Regions from separate parts of the Homo sapiens genome. Here region 1 is linked to region 2. Evidence: promoter capture Hi-C in human tissues and cell types (Jung and others, 2019). All regions are on one chromosome and are shown on one strand. Each heading gives the region's core, a stretch centred on a gene start or on the middle of the fragment in contact. The rest is flanking DNA. Distances are from core to core; before and after follow the strand shown. Region 1 overlaps LOC124904713 (a long non-coding RNA gene). Region 2 holds the start of LRFN1 (leucine rich repeat and fibronectin type III domain containing 1).

Region 1 (3,020 bases), core at 473-2,972, 380 kb after region 2:
AGGAATTAGTTACTGAATAATTAGAAAACGGACACATAGCTCCAACATTTTCCCCTTGGAATTCTCCAGTTTTCGTAATTAAGAAAAGAATCAGATAAACGGAGAATGTTAACTGACTTAAGAGCCATTAATTCAGTTATACAACCCATGGGTACATTACAGCCAGGATTGCCTTCTCCTGCTATGATTCCAAAAAATTGGCCTTTAATAGTCATAGATTTAAAAGACTGTTTCTTTACTATCCCCTTAGCTGAGCAAGACTGTGAACAGTTTGCATTTACAATTCCTGCAGTAAACAACCTGCAGCCTGCTAAGCGTTTTCACTGGAAAGTATTGCCACAAGGCATGTTAAACAGCCCAACAATTTGCCAGACTTATGTAGGGCAAGCAATTGAACCTACTCGTTAAAAGTTTTCACAGTGTTACATTATTCATTATATGGATGATATACTTTGTGCTGCCCCCACTCGAGAAGTATTACTCCAATGTTATGATCACTTACAAAATTCGATTTCTTGCGCTGGTTTAATTATAGCTCCTGACAAAATTCAGACTACTACTCCTTACTCCTACTTGGGGACCTTAGTAAATGACACTACCATTGTGCCACAGAAAGCAACCATACATAGGAATCAATTGAAAACATTAAAGGACTTTCAAAAATTACTAGGGGACATTAATTGGATACGACCTGCTCTAGGCATTCCTACCTATGCCATGAGTAATCTATTTTCTATCCTTAGAGGAGATCCTGGTCTCACAAGCCCTCGGTAATTAACAAGAGAAGCTGAGGCAGAGCTGCGGCTAATCGAAAAGCAAGTCCATAAAGCTCAAATAAATAGATTAGATCCAGAGAAGACTCTAGATTTGCTAATTTTTCCAACTCAGCATTCACCTACTGGTGTTATTGTTCAAGAGTGAGATCTTGTAGAGTGGCTTTTTCTTCCACATACTAATTCACGGACTCTAACTCCTTATTTGGATCAAATTGCTACTATGATAGGAAATGGGAGAACTCGGATTGTTAAATTACATGGATATGATCCTGGAAAAATTATTATCCCTCTCACAAAGGCACAAATACAGCAAGCTTTTATAAATAGTCTTACTTGGCAAACCAATTAAGCTGACTTTGTGGGTATTCTCGATAACCATTTTCCTAAACAAAACTGTTTTAATTTTTGAAATTAACTAATTGGATTCTCCCTAAAATAACTAAATTTAAACCAATTGAAGGTGCTGAAAATGTTTTTACAGATGGGTCTAGTAATGGTAAAGCTTCTTATTCTGGCTCAAAAAGTAAAGTTTTTCAGATGCCCTATACTTCAGCTCAAAAAGTGGAGCCTGTAGCTGTAATTGAGGTAGTGACTGCTTTTCATATGCCTATTAATGTGATTTCTGACTCTTCATACGTGATTCATTCCACACAATTAACTGAAAATGCTCAGTTACAATTTCCTGCAGATGAACAACTGATGATTTTATTTACCCAACTGCAAACAGCAGTTAGGAGTAGAATGCACCCTTTTTACATCACTCACATTAGGGCTCATACACCTCTTCCAGGCGTCACCTTTTGCAGTGTTTTGCAGTGATGGGCATTCCAGCTTCTATTAAAACAGATAAAGCCCCAGGCTACACTAGCCGAGCTCTAGCTACATTTTTCTCTATACGGAATATTAAACACATTACTGGTATCCCATATAATTCTCAAGGACAAGCCATAGTGGAAAGAATGAATCTCTCCCTGAAACAGCAGTTGCAAAAGCAAAAAAAAGGGGGGAAAACAAGGACTACGGGACACCCCATATGCAACTGAATCTAGCATTGTTAACTTTAAATTTTTTGAGCCTGCCTAAAGGCCAGATCCTATCAGTAGCTGAACAGCATCTACAGAAACCAGCTGCAAAGACAGAAGCAGAACAACTAGTTTGGTGGAGAGATCCAATAACAAAAAGTTAGGAAATAGGTAAAATAATAACTTGGGGTAGAGGTTATGCTTGTGTTTCTCCAGGACTGACTCAACAGCCGATTTGGATACCATCAAGACACCTGAAACCTTATCATGAGCCAGATGCTGAGGAAGAGATTCCGGGAGGAAACTGAGGACCCCCCCCACCCCCGGTTGCAGCCATGTCGAGACTGACGCTGAGGAAGACCCCAACTGTCACGAGCAACACCTGTCAAACACAGCCACCCACCTGGAGACAGATCAAGAAGCTGTCACAGATGGTGGAAGAAAACCTGAGGAAAGTGGGACAACCAGTCGCAATGAGTAATTTAATGGTAGCTATGATAGCGATGATCACCACTGCCATGAGTATTCCTTCAATAAGGGCTGACACAGAGGACAATTATACTTATTGGGCATATTTATCAATCTTGGCTGGCAATAATGCCTGGATGTAATCACTCTATGACACAGTTATACAAGCTTTCTGATCTCATAATAAATCTGCTCCTATAATTGAGGCATACTGCCCTCAAAAACATATTTGTAAACAGGATTGGACCCAGTTAGCAAAAATGAACGTACTTGTTTAGGAAGATTGCTTTGCAGAACAGGCAGAGGTGCTGCACAACAATTCCTATGGAATCATTATTAATTGGTCACCTATGGGGATGTTTAGCTTGAACTGCACCTCTCAGTCTGCATGCCATGGCCACACTGTGATCAGCTCATCTGAACAAAATGGTCAGATGATAGAAATGGTAAGAAATACAGCAAGAGTTCCTATTATCTGGAACCATGGCAGTATAGTGGCACCTCAGCCTCAAATGATATGGCCTGCTCTAGGAGCTAAACATAAGCATTTGTGGAAACTGTTAATAGCTCTTAATAAAATCAAAATTTGGGAAAGAATAAAAAAGCATCTAGAAGGCCACTCTACAAACTTGTATTTGGATATTGCAAAATTGAAAGAACAAATATTTAAAGTATCCCAGGCACACGTGAACTTAATGCCAGGAACTGGAGTGCTTGAAGGAGCTGCAGACAGATTAGCAGCTAGTAACCCATT
Region 2 (2,990 bases), core at 242-2,741:
GAGAATTGCTTGAACCTGGGAGGTGGAGGTTGCAGTGAGCCGAGATCGTGCCACTCTACTCCAGCCTGGGTGACAGAGTGAGACTTTGTCTAAAAAAAAAAAAAAATTAGGAAAGGGGTTTAGAGGAGGACCTCTGTACAGTGGGATCCAAAACGAGAAGGGTTTGAGACCCCAGGAATCTGGGGCACTGCATGAAACAACACAGATTTTTAGGGGAGAAGTTGCTGGGTTTAGGGACCCTGTGAATATCTCAGAAAGAGAAGGAGAGTGGCCTGAGATACTCAGTGGGGTTTGAGGGAAGGGGTGGGGTTCAGCTATGGGACAGGGGATGGGCAAAGGGGTCTGAACTAGGAAGGAGCAAGGCATTCTGGGCTCTATGGAAGTCACAGGGAGGGGGGACTTTCAGGGTCCAAGAGAAAGAACTGGAGCAAGAAGGAGGCAGGGTCCTCAAGGGGGCAGGACTAGTAGGGGGTGGGAAAAAATTGGGGCTAATTGGGGAGTTTTGGAAACCAAAGGATGTCTTGGAGGAGAAGGAGAGAGAAAGGTGTAAGGTCAAAGGGGTGGAAGATGGTTTGGGGTCTAATGGGGTTCATGGGGAAAGTTTAAGGGTCTTCCATAGGGATAAGAGACATTTTAGGGCCCCCTAGAAGTTAGGCATGGTTTGGAGTTCATACTGGGGGTAAGGGAATGGGTTAGGGTCCTTGAGGGTAGAAGGACATGGCTGGGGGTCCCCAAGAAGGAGTGGAATATGATTTGTGGTTCTGGTGGCTGTAGAATGTGGTTTGGGTCCCCAAAGGGAGTCAGGCACCATCTGGGATTTGGCTGACATATGGTCTGAAGTCTCCCCCGATGTTAGGGTATGATTTGGGGTCCGTGAGGGAAGGGGTGTGGTCTGGGGGTCTATCTGAATGTTGGGATATGATTTAGGGTTGCTGGTGGGGTGGTCTGGATCCCCTTGGATGCTGGGATATGATCTGGGATTCTTCTGGGTTTGGGGGCATGGTCTGGGGTTCCTGACAGTGTGTGGGTCATAGTCTGAGGTCAAGCAGGAGAGCAGGGCATGATTTGTGGTCCTGGGTGGCCCTAGAACATCGCCTGGGTTCTCAAAAGAGGTGAGGCCTGATCCGAGGTCCCCCTGGGTATTAGGACGTGATGGGAGGTCTCTGTAGGGAGATCCGGGGTCCCTAGGCCAGTTGGGGCGTGGTCTGGGGGGGTCTCCGGGGAGGCCGGCGGGGCTGGGGGTGGGGCTGGGGAAGGGTCGGGGGCGGGCCCGCGGCGGCTCGGCAGTGGAGAGGGGTCTGCGGCGGGTTCGGGGCGGGGATCCCGGGTGTGCGACCGCCCCGCCCGGCCGCCCCCACCAGTCGGCGCCCCCTCCCCCCTTGCGGCGGCGGTGGCGGCGGGCGGCGCGGAGGGCGGAGCTCGGCTGCGGCTCGGGAGGGAGGGCGGGAGGCGGGAGGGAGGCGGCCCCGCGGCACCGCGCCCCCTCCCCCGGCCCTCCCCCCACCATGGCGCGGAGCGAGGCAGCGGCGGCGGGGCCGGGCCCGGGGCCCCCCCGGGCTGGGTGAGCGCGGCCTGCAGCGGCCCGGGAGCGGCGGGCGGGGGCGCGGGTGTGTGCGCGGGTGTGAGCGTGCGAGCGTGCGAGTGTGTGTCCGTGGCGCTGCGGCGGGCCCGGCGTGCGCCCGCGCGGCCCTATGTGTGCCCGGTGCCGGCGTGTGCGGCGCCCTGCCCGTGTGGCCATCGGGTGTGCGCGGGGTGTCGAGCCCGGCCGGCGTGTCCGGCTGTGCACGCGTGTCCCCCCGAGCGGCCGCCCCTCCGGCTGTGTGTCTGGGCGCTGTCGCGCGCCCATCGGAGGGGCTGTGTGCAGGTGTGTGTGTGCGTGGGTTGTGTGCCCAGGTGTGGGTCCCCCCCAAGCCCATGTGCGTGCGCGACTAGCTGCTCTGGGTGTTTGTGTCCGGGTTGGATGTCCATCCCCGGGTCTGTGGAGCCGGGTGTGCCCGCTCGGGTGTCCATTTGTGTGTGTGTGTGTGTGTGTGTGTGTGTGTGTGTGTCTGCGGGTTGTATGTCTCCGAGGGTGTGTATCTGTGAGTCCACGGCAGGTTGCTGGCTTGGGGGCTGAGGCTCGGCGCCCAGGCCTCGGTGTGGATTTGGGGGAGGGGAGTTCGCCGCTCCCTCGGTCCATGTCAACTGGGGGGTCCTTAGCGGTCCTGGGGGAAGCGGCCATGTCTTCCCCTTCCCGGTGGTTGCGGGGGGGGGATGGGCGGCCAGGAGGTGGACAGATGGAGGGGGGATGAGAGGCCGAGAAATGGACAGATGGGCCCTGAGGTGGGGGTTGGGGGGCGAAGACCCGGCCCTTCCCCACCCACTCCACCCTAATTCCCCCACCGGCCAGACATCTGCAGACGGAGCCAGAGTTACCTCCATCCTGATGGCCAGGCTGGGGAACCTTTGGGGCTGCTGGTGGGAGGATCTCCTTGAAACGGTGATCTAGGACTCAAACCCCCAAATCCTCTTGAGTTTCCACCTGCTGAACTCTGACCTCTGGCCTGGCTTTTGCCCTGGTTTTTTGGGGGTGTGGAGGGCAGGATGCTGAATGTGCTGCAGGGATGTTAGGATTTCTTGGGCCTGGGAAGTAAGTAGGTGGGGTGGTGGGGGGGTGCCTCAGGGCTGGGAGGAATGTGTGTCCAAGACTGTGTGAGTGTGAATCTGGGCCTGTCTACTGACTGTGCTACTGTGGTTCAGTATTTTCTATGCATTTGGAAGTGTGTAAATCACAGGACTGTTGTGTGAGCATGTGTCTGTTATGAGTGAACATCTTGGCGTGTCTGCAAAGGTGGATCTTTTTGTGCCTGTGTGCGTGTTCCAGTGTGGATCAGCCTCGTATCTGTATGCTTGTGGTTTTGTGTGTGTGTGTGTGTGTGTGAGGTATGTATCTGTTAGCGTGGTGCTGTATCAACTTTGCAACATGGAGATGTGTGAAGTATGAGTGTGTC

The links. Contacts are between HindIII fragments. The study calls those that stand out against the background at their distance.
Region 1: a contact is called between a fragment that was not itself captured here and the fragment with the promoter of LRFN1 in region 2, in 1 of the 25 tissues and cell types used here (dorsolateral prefrontal cortex).

The regions. Positions count from the first base shown.
Region 1 is chr19:38,935,847-38,938,866 of GRCh38, reverse strand. It overlaps LOC124904713 (a long non-coding RNA gene), which reads left to right. Exons shown (of 2, transcript XR_007067253.1): 2 at 2,015-3,020. Among named protein-coding and RNA genes, the nearest start is that of MRPS12, 6.4 kb to the right of the region's middle. The HindIII fragment of the contact is 4,061 bases long and covers 1-3,020 here.
Region 2 is chr19:39,319,364-39,322,353 of GRCh38, reverse strand. LRFN1 (leucine rich repeat and fibronectin type III domain containing 1) reads left to right here and starts at 1,491. Exons shown (of 5, transcript NM_020862.2): 1 at 1,491-1,561. RefSeq lists a silencer at 1,643-1,902. The HindIII fragment of the contact is 12,533 bases long and covers 1-2,990 here.